3 separate regions of the Homo sapiens genome follow, and regions 1 and 3 are each linked to region 2. The links are contacts of gene promoters, found by promoter capture Hi-C in human tissues and cell types (Jung and others, 2019). All regions are on one chromosome and are shown on one strand. The core of a region is centred on a gene start or on the middle of the fragment in contact, and the rest is flanking DNA. Distances in the headings are between cores, read along the strand shown. Region 1 overlaps RAMP1 (receptor activity modifying protein 1). Region 2 holds the start of RAB17 (RAB17, member RAS oncogene family). Region 3 holds the start of LOC124908001 (a long non-coding RNA gene).

What was found. The method cuts DNA at HindIII sites, captures the fragments that hold promoters and counts their contacts. A contact is called where the count stands out against the background at its distance.
Region 1: a fragment that was not itself captured here is called in contact with the fragment with the promoter of RAB17 in region 2 in 1 of the 25 tissues and cell types used here (mesenchymal stem cells).
Region 3: a fragment that was not itself captured here is called in contact with the fragment with the promoter of RAB17 in region 2 in 1 of the 25 tissues and cell types used here (mesenchymal stem cells).

Annotation. Positions count from the first base shown.
Region 1 is chr2:237,899,406-237,903,068 of GRCh38, reverse strand. All of the region lies in intron 2 of RAMP1 (receptor activity modifying protein 1), which reads right to left. Among named protein-coding and RNA genes, the nearest start is that of RAMP1, 42 kb to the right of the region's middle. The HindIII fragment of the contact is 6,975 bases long and covers 1-3,663 here.
Region 2 is chr2:237,589,284-237,591,983 of GRCh38, reverse strand. It overlaps RAB17 (RAB17, member RAS oncogene family), which reads left to right and starts at 1,250. Exons shown (of 6, transcript NM_022449.4): 1 at 1,250-1,517. It overlaps RAB17-DT (RAB17 divergent transcript), which reads right to left and starts at 824. Exons shown (of 3, transcript NR_187201.1): 1 at 717-824; 2 at 1-112. The HindIII fragment of the contact is 5,809 bases long and covers 1-2,147 here.
Region 3 is chr2:237,942,915-237,946,546 of GRCh38, reverse strand. LOC124908001 (a long non-coding RNA gene) reads right to left here and starts at 1,085. Exons shown (of 2, transcript XR_007088146.1): 1 at 460-1,085. The HindIII fragment of the contact is 3,137 bases long and covers 52-3,188 here.

The sequences.
Region 1 (3,663 bases), core at 830-3,329, 310 kb before region 2:
TGGGCAACCTAGTGAGACCCAGTCTCTCTGCTAAATAAATAAATAAAGTTTTGAAAAGCAGCAGCAGGTTAGACCAGGTGCCATAAACAGCCTGGATTGGGGTAAAATGGTCCACATGGGAGGGGGACACAGCAGAATGTCACAGGAGTGATCCCCACCAGAATGGTAATAACACGAAGGACTTTTCTCTCAACTTTTTTGGGTTTTCTACCTTGAGCATACATACTTTTTATAATTATATTTAACAGCTCATTTTAGCAGGAAGGCTCACAGGAAACTAGATGTTGGCGTCACTGCATCTGCAGCCACCGTGCCTGGTGTCTGGGGCAGCCTGGGTCTTCCCACCAGAGGGCTCTGATGTGCAGGCAGGGCTGGGACCCTCTGGTGACAGCGGCTCATGGGGGAGGCGTGCAGGGCAGACAGGGAGCGGGGACGGGGCGTTGGGCCTCTCCAGTCTCAGTGGCCTCCTGCGTGGAACTGGGGGCCCCGCGGGACCCAACTCTGAGGCAGGAAGGGGCTCTGTGGAAGGGTGAGTGGGGGTGCGGGGTGGGCCCTGGGGGCAGGACCCCACTTTCCTCCTCGCTGTGTTCCCCCCACCCCCTCTGCGGAGACCTCTGCGTCCTCCTGGTCCTCCTGTTCCCTCCTCCATCTCCCTGTCCTTCTGGCCCCTCCTCTTCCTCCTGATCCCTCTCTCCTCCTGGCCTCTCCCTCCTCCTCCCAGCCCCTCCTCCACCCCCTGATCCCTCCCTCCTCCTCCCAGCCCCTCCTCCTCCTCCCGATCCCTCCTTACCCCTCCCTCTTCCACCTCGCCCTTGCTCCAGGCCCCCACCTCATCCTCACTCCAGCCTTGCTCCGGGTGGCAGTGGGGCATCCTCACTCACTGAAGACCCCGGGCCCTTACCAGCCCCCGGAGGAGAGGCATCCCCCGCGAAGTGCTCCTTCTCTCTCGGCCTTGGGCTGCACCTGAGAGTTCCCCATTCTCCCTCCTCCACCTGAAGCCTGGGCTGTTCACTTCTGGCTGTGAACACATGTGACTCAGGGCCCCCATGCCATGCCTATCCCCTGAGTTATCATGGCTCCCCTTTCCCTCAAGGGTGCCCTCCCCTCCTGAGGCCCCATCACTGTGCCCAGGATGGGGCAGAAGTGACTCGTCCTGGTGGATGGGTTATTACAACTTACATACCAGCTTCCACTTTTCTGTAGTGAGTATGTGGGGGCTTGGCATCTATCTACCCCTTCTTCTGCCTCCCCCAGTTTAGTCAGGGGCAGCCATCAAACCCCTCCACCGCCCTCCACTCTGCATGCTGGGCTTAGCTACCACGGGCTCTCCAGGCCACATCCCACACCCTGGCCGCTGCCCAAGCCCACCGTCCACACCTTCCCACCCCTGCTTCACGCCTTCAGTGCTCACCATTACACCTGTCCCAGATTCAGAAGCTTCTGTGTGGGTCACTCAACTGGGTCCCCTCCCTCCTGCTGGCCACATTCTAGCCACAGTGGCCAGTGTTCTGCCTCAGGACCTTTGCACATGCTGTTCCTTTTAACTGGAAAGCTCTTAGCCTCATCTTCACAAGGCCACCCTATGCTCGCCCTTCGCTTAAATGTCACGTCCTCAAAGAGGCCTTTTCTGGATGCTTCAATCATATTTGGCTTCCCCAGCAAAGTGGGGTTTTCCTTCATAGATGGGTGTTACTTTGTGGCTGTCCATGAACTCATGTGATTATTCACCCACTGTTGGTCTCAACAACCAGACTGCAGACACCACCGGGGCAGGGAGGGTAAGAGCAAAAATCCCCCTTACTCTGGTCACAGTGGCCACCTCCAAGGCAAAGTGAAACAAAGCCTGAAGGAAGACAGCGAGAGAGGGATGTACCCAGGAGACGCAGACAGAAGGTGAGCAGGGGTGTGGGCTTCCCAGCAGACCTGGCCCAGGCCGGTGAGAAGGGCCATCAGTGGGGCTGATGGGGATGCTCCACCCAGGACAGCTGGCACTGCGCCACAGCGTACAGACAGCCCGCAGCTGCCAGGAACGCAAGACACGTGGGAGACTTAAACACACCTCCCAAGGCTAGGTAGATAAACAGTAGCATAAAGTGATTATGAAAAATAATGTTAATAAACCGATGCAGTGACTGTCTGATAAAGGTTCTATTCTACAGAGACTCAGCCGGCTTTTCAAAGGCCCCTGGGTCTGTGTTAGGCGGCAAAAAGAGACTCATCAAATCCCCAGAGTATAAATCATAAGTCAATATTCTCAGGCTACAATACTGAAAACTAAAAATTAGTTTTAAAAAAAGGATAAATTTAAAAAAATGGAATTCCTAGAAATGAAAGATCATTTATATAATTTCGAAGTCACAGGAGAATTTAAAAATTCAATTACAAAATATTAAGAGAACAAGATCGGCAATACTATATGTACAAATGAATGGAATGGGGCAAAAGTGAATTCTGAGAAAAATTAATAGTTATAAATTATTTTATTAAACAAAAATAAATGAAAATAAACAAAATAAGTATCCAAAGCAAGATATTTTTTAAAAAGAACAAAATAAATCTCTCCAAATGGCACATAATTTGTCCATCAATAATTATTAGAAGCAATATAGGCCAGGTGCGGTGGCTCACGCCTGTAATACCACCACTTTGGGAGGCCGAGGTGGGCAGATCACTTGAGCTCAGGAGTTCAAGACCAGCCGGGGCAGCATGGCGAAACCCCATCTCTGCTGAAAATATCAAAATTAGCCAGGCATGGTGGCACACACCTGTAGTCCCAGTTAACTTGAGTGGCTGAGGCACGAGAATGCCGTGAACCCAGGAGGCAGAGGTTGCAGTGAGTCGAGATCGTGCCACTGCACTCCAGCCTGGGCGACAGAGCCAGACACTGTCCTAAACAAACAAACAAATAAACAAAAAACAAAAAACAGAAAAGAAAAAGAAGAAGTATAAGAGATTAATACGTAAAAAAGGTTTGTTAAAAATTGGAAAATCCTCAGTGAATTGGGATACTTTTTGGTTAAATTATAAACTATCAAATATCGACTTAAAAAGGAGGAATTCCAAGAAGAAAAATGGCAAATGTTATTAAAGAATTGCTGTTTCAAAAGGCACTAGATCCCAGGCAGTTCTTTCAAATTCTTTTTTTTTCTTTTTAATTGAGACAGGTTCTCACTATGTTGCTCAGGCTGGTCTCAAACTCCTGGGCTCAAGCGATCCTCCCACCTCGGCCTTCCAAAGTGCTGGGATTACAGGTGTGGGAGGCGTGAGCCACTGCAAATTCTTAAAGTGAAAGAAAAAGATGTGCAGCTTCCCAGTTCATTTAAAAAAGTTAACAAACCCTGATCCCAAGCCTCTTGAGATGGCATGACATGCGTCTCAACGCATGCGCACACGGACGGAACAGATGCCCTTCGCTTCCACCTATAAATAGACACTCAAGTCCCCTACCCAATGCTAACAAACTTCATCTAGCCACATAGCATATTTTATTTAAAGGAGGGCTAATTTCAGGAATGCTTTAAACCTGTTACTACAAAATCACACTTTAATACACCATGGGAAAAAAATGTACCGTCATTTTAATACGCATTGAGAAGGCATTTGAGAAAACTCAATATTCTTTTCTGATTTTAAAAAAGCCACAACCTTGAAAACACAGAAAGA
Region 2 (2,700 bases), core at 1-2,500:
TCGAGCCACCGCGCTGGCCTCTTTTTGCATTCTTGCTATAAAATTGGTATTTGTATCTTCCTCCCATTCTGCGCTCCCCCAACCCTGCAGGAAGGTGGATTCTTCAAGGGAACTGGAGAGAAGAGAAGCACATTCATGTATTTCCACATTCAGCCTCCATCTCACGAGTTACACCATTCCCAGCACGTCACCACCCCCAGACCTTTGGTTACCAGCCTGGGGGCAGAGGATAAGGACGTCATTCAAAAATAGAGAGATTCTCAAGCCTCCAGAGTGCGGGGGCCCAGCCGAGCATGCTGGCGGCTTCCAGGGAGGTGGCCACGCCCCAGGGGAAGTGGTTGCATGGAGGAAGAATCTCAGAGGAGGCTTGGACGTGGTAGAGCAACGCTAGTCCTGTGTTAGGACTGGCTAGTCCGTCCTGCAGGGATGAGGGGCAGAGCCTCAGCAGAAGTCCAGGCCAGTGTCCCCCCTCCAGCATAAGAGCCCCCCACTCCCACAGGGCGGAGGAACCACTGTGGTGGCGGAGCTTATTTCCCAGCAGCCCCGCGGGATGAGACCCAAACGAGAAGTTAGGGTGAGTTTGGAGGACATAAAGTGAGCTGGCTTCCCGTATACTGGCTGTGTGGAGTAATGTTCACGGCAACAGATTTCCATCTCCTCAGCCTCAGGCCCAACCCTGCTACCCCAGCCATACTCAGAGGCTCTGGAAATCTTACCTGGAGGAGACTCTTCTGTTACCACCAAGCCAGGAAGTTTCATGGCTTGGGAAGACCAAGAGGAAGTCCACCTCCCCCTCTCCTGCACCTGGAGTCTCCCATGTGCACGGAGGCCACGCCCCCACCCCGCCCTCAGGTGGCATCAGCCCAGGATCTGACCCTGGACTGGCTCACACTCAGTTGCCTCTGGCCAGTGCAGGGCTCAGCCAGGGATGGCTTCTAGCTGACAGTGGGAGGAATTAATTCATCTGACCGGAATATTCTTTTCTCTTCTGGGCTGTTGGTTTTTCAAGTGCAACAAAGATTCCATACAGCTCCAAGGAAGGAGCCAAGAAAAACATTCTGTGCCAAAGTGAGATCCTGGAAGTGAAACCCCGGAATAAAGCTGAAAAACGGGCTCCAGTTGGGTGCCAGGAAATGCAGGACTGGAATGTGACTTGACTTCCGGCAGCGCGCAGGTGCTCCCGGGTCACCTGCTTTGAGGTCCAGCCTCCTGCCCTGCCTCAGGTGACCACATGACCACTGTGGACTTTGCCCTGAAACCTTCTGGGAGGAGAAGAGGCCTGACCTTGGCGCTGGGGTCCAGTGGGCATTGCTCTGGTCCGAGGCTGCTGCTCTTGACCTCTGCTCTGCGGCTGTTTTCCATTGGAGTAGAGGCTCCTCCTGTCCTGTCCTGCCTGTGGAGGGAAGCAAACCTTCCCCTGGACCAGAGAGAGGAGAAAGCGGAGACAGGTAGCAACGCTGTGGACTGGTGATGACAGGCTCTTCAGCTCCCTGCAAGTGACCGGGCCTGGGGAACAGGTGAGTCATTGTTTAAACCTCTGTGCCCTTTGTGGAGTGTCTGCCTGTGTGTGTGTGTGTCTCTGCTTCTCTGTGTGTGAGTCTCTGTGTGTCTGTGTGTGTGCTCACGTGTTTGTACCCATGTCTGTATTTGTTTGTGTCTGTGCATGTGCCCATGTGTGTATAATCAAAGGACAAAGCTGGGGCGGAGACTTCCTAGTTCAGATTTCTGATGGCTCACTAAGTCGGATTCCCAGAAGGAGATTCTTATTTGCATTTTTCTTCGGGAAAGTTCCGGTTTTAAGGTCTTGAAAAAAAAAAACACAAAAAACTTCTGGTAATGAGAAGAACTCTTAAAGAAATCCATTTCAAATGACATCAACATTCCCAATTTAATACCCAGTGATATCTAGGAAGCTTGTCAGGTTTTCTTGTAAACTCCTTTTTACAATCTACATTGTGTTTTCTGTATCAGATGGCTGTATTCTGAATGCAATGTACAGGTGTACCTCTCGTAATCTCAATATTCTTCACAGGCCCCAGGCAAGGGTGACACAGGATCACAGTTGCCGATAGACTCATCAATCAGACCCTTCCCTGGAATGGCCCCTTCCCCGCAAAAAAGACTAATGTGGGATTTGCTCTCCGTTTTTTTTCCCTTTAGTGGAAGGGAGGTGCAAGAGATTAAAAAGCCCCAAGTTAAGATTACTAGAGAAGCGCCAGTCTTGAATATGGTGTTCCTGAAAACATCTTTGTCTTCAACAACCTAATAACATCTTTCACTACTAATAACCCCATCTTGATTAAATTCTGGAGGTGGGGGTCAGGTGCCACACTTTTAATTTTCTCTTTGGACAGAAGGCTCCAACCTCTCATTATTGAAAGCTTACAACACTCAATCACACAAAAAGTTATATAAGAAAATGTTTACTGCAGTCTTATTACAGAGAAAAAATTAAAACTAAGTAAAAATCCAGTATTAGGAAAATGGTTCAGCAAGTTGAGATAGTTGTAGAAATGTTATATGTCCATTAAACATGATTTTGAAGCAATGTGTGAGACTGCCTTTGGTATTAAGTATTTCTTACCCATCGGATAATAATTTTATGTTAAAACTATGGGTTTTGGTTTGTTTTTAGGAGTCATAGAAAAAAACTAGAAGTAGGCAAAAATACCATTTGTGGTTGTATTACGGGGGTGGAGT
Region 3 (3,632 bases), core at 371-2,870, 350 kb before region 2:
TCTTTCTTTCTTTTTTTTCTTCTTTCATCTCTCTGTCTCTCTTTCCTTCCTTCCCTTCCCTTCCCTCCCTCCCTCCCTCCCTTCCTTCTTTCCTTCCTTCCTTCCTTCCTTCCTTCCTTCCTTTCTTCCTTCCTTCCTTCCTTTTCTTTCTTGACAGAGTCTGGCTCTGTCACCCAGGCTGGAGTACAGTGACACATTCTTGGCTCACTGCAACCTCCACCTCCTGGGCTCAAGTGATCCTCCCACTTCAGCTTCCTGAGTAGCTGGACCACAGGCATGTGCCACCACCCCTGGCTTGTTTTTGTATTTTTTGTAGACATGAGTTTTCACCATGTTGCTCAGGCTGGTCTCAAACTCGTCAGCTCAAGCAACCCACTGCCTTGGCCTCCCAAAGTGCTGGAATTACATGCACAAGCCACTATGCCTGGCCTATTAAGGGTTAATTGAACCATTTCTTACCCAAGTGGGATCATATTCTATGTGAGTTTTGTAGCTTGCTCTTCTTATTTTTCCAGCTAACGGCAGGTCTTGAAGGCCTTTTCTGTAAGCGCACGTAGAGCCACGTCACTCCTGTTAAAGGCTGGTGGAGGTGGTGTTGTTCATTACCTTCCTTCTGCTCCCCATGCGTCCAGCCATCTGCAGTCAGGTAGGGCCCTGTGGCTCGCTACGGCTGTTGGGTTGTGGGCAGAAATGATATGACTGGCTCTGATTTACGTGAAAGAGGGAATTAGAAGTCCAGTTTTATCATACAGGCCTAAGAGTCGCACTCAGGCACCCTGTTCCCAGGGGGCATCTGATGGGGAGACACGCAGCAGAGAGAGTTGCAGACAATGCTGGTTGCTATGCCAACATCTACCCTTCCTTTCTTCTCTGTAACAAAGCCTGGCTTGAAGCTGGGTACATCACTTGGTCTCCCTCGATGCTAAGTGTGGCCTTGTGTCTCAGGTCGGGGTGGGAAGGCTGCTCAAATGGGGATGACTCACGCAGGGGGCGCTGCTTTGCCTCCTGCACTCCCTGGGTTCTCCAAAGTGATTTTAAGAAGCAGGCACTTGACAGCCCAGAAGCTTCTCTTCATCCACCGCTTGGCTTAATTGAGGTGGTGGTGGGAGGCCACAAAGGCTGCCCAGCCCCTCGGAACCACTGTCATGTCTTTGGTTCAACCTTCCTTCATCCACGTTGCTCTAGCCAAGAGTCTTTGGTAGCAACAAACAGAGACCCATGCAAGCTTTCTTCCACTAAAACCGGGCAGTCCAGGCAGCAAACTTCAGATTCCAGAAGGCTTCAGGAATGGAAACTTCTCTCTTCTTTGGAGGCCTGCGTCGCTCCACAGCCCTGCCTCTGTCTATTGCTGTCTTACTCTCCATTGTCTCTCAAGCTGCCTCAGGATCCTTAGGTTGTTGCTTTTGCAGTTGGAAACCTCTGTGGCTGGTGGTGCCTTTGCCTGAGTTTTTGCTCAGGCCCACTTGGCTCATTCTGCCCACTTGGCCTGGCAGGCTGCACTCAGCTCGTGCTACTGGCCGGGATCTTACACCTGACAAGGGTGAGCCAGTAGCAAAGTGGAGTGAGTGTGGGGTCCAGCCACTGTGCACAGCCAGGTGAACTGGCTGCTGCTATGGGACAGGCAGCTCCAGGCACTGGCACAGGCACCAACTCTGTGCAAGGCTGCATCTGGATAAGATGTACTGCAGGCGGCTTCCTCTGTGGTTACCTATGTCTGGACGAGGGGAGCATGGTGGTGCCTGGAAGCTTGGCAATACCAGGAACCACAGAGCTCCAAAGAAGGTGTCACAGCCCTGGCTCAGGGACCCCCTATGTCTGGGCTTCCTGAAGGGCCACAGGTCTTCTCTCCTTCTTGTTGCCCACAACACGGTGAGTGGGGGGTTGGGGGGCATGTTTCAGCCCTGTTTGTGTTACAGCTCTTTCAGTCACACCATGTGGTGAGTTCTTGTCCCATGTCCAGGAAGAATGAGGTACGTTGGCAACTGGAGAGTGAGAAAGATGGAGAGGAATTTTAATGAGTGACAGAACAGCTCTCAGGAGACCCAGAGTGGGTAGTTTGTTTCCACAGGGAGGTAGTTCTGATGAATGCAGCCCTCAGCAGAGAGGAGATCCGGAGTGGGTAGCTCCTTTCTGAAGGCAGGGCATCCTGATGAGTGTCCAGCTCTCAATGGAGATGAGACCCAGGGTGGGTAGCTCCTGTCCACAGGCAGGTTGTCCCGACAAGTTGAGGAGACCCAAAGTAGGTCGTCCCTTCCTTCCTGCAGCTGGTAGTCCTGATGTCTGTGGGAGTCTGGGGTTTTTATGGGCTTAGAAGGGAGGAAGTGTGTGCTGACCGTGGGCAGCCATAGGTGGGCCTGGAAAAAGTACCATAAGTTCTCACTCCAGGCTGTGGACTCCATCTGTAACTGACAGCCCAGCCCCTAGGCTTCAGGCTGTCCCTGGCTTGAATGTGGGGCTTCACTGGGGACCCTCCTCTTCCCACTCAGGAGCCTGTCTGCCTCCTGCTGCCATCAATGTGCCATCCACGGCACCCAAGCTGTTCATGTTGAGGGGCACCTGCAGGCCCTCACTGAGCTGCCCTCAGCACCCCTTTGGCTTCCCTCCCATGCTGGTTGACACCCAAAGTCCAGAGGGGGCAAGGTTCCAGGGGGCTGGCATGTCAGCAGCATCCCAAAATCAGGCACTCAGCCAGGTCATGACAGTGCCCAGGATGGGCCACAGCTTTGCTCTACCATAGAGTGGGCACTGGGAGCAGTGGGAAGCCAGGCAGCAGGAGCAGACACTTTCAAGCCTGCAGGGGTAAGGGGCTTCCTGGGCCCCCAAGAGTGCACGGATGCCTGGGTCTGGAGCTGAGGCTGAGTGGCTGCAGCTGCGCCTGGGAGCATGGGGCTTCTGTCCTGCCGACTCAGTAGGGGCCGGGGCTCCCGCCTGTTCTGTGGAGCATGCCGCCCTGACCACACCTCCCCCACTGCAGCTGGCATTTTCACAGTGGCCTCTCCAGATGGGCCATTGCTGCCATCAAAGCCAATGATGTCTACTTGCTCCCTGTCCACATGACTGGTGTTTGCTGTGTCTCTAGAAAAAAAATGTGTCAGCCAAGAGGAGGCTTAATACCCTATGCCAGGCCCTGTGCTATGATTGGCCACTATGTTGATTTAAAAAGACAAGGTATTAAATGTACCTCCCCTTAAATAACGCCATGGGACTGGCAGTTTATGTACTTAACAGGAGCTGGGCAGGACAGATGAAAATGGAAGAGGGGAACATATATTCAGGGTAACTTGACTATATGTCTCCTGGGTTGCAGTCCTCAAATTTGGCCCAAATAAACTCTCTAATTATACTTAAGAAAGACAGAGAGAGAGAGAAAAGAAAATCACAGAAGACAAGAATGAGCTGCATACAAACTTCTTGGTTCAGAGGGGCTTCATTACCCACCATTACAAAATTAGATAGGAAACCAAAAGTCAGCTGAAAATAACCTCTGAAGAACAATCTACTTATAGCCAGGTGTGGTGGCTCATGCCTACAATGCCAGCACTTTGGGAGGCCGAGGCAGGAGGATCACTTGAGCTCAGGCGTTCGAGACCAGCCTGGGCAATATAGTGAGACACCCCCGTTTCTAATATAAT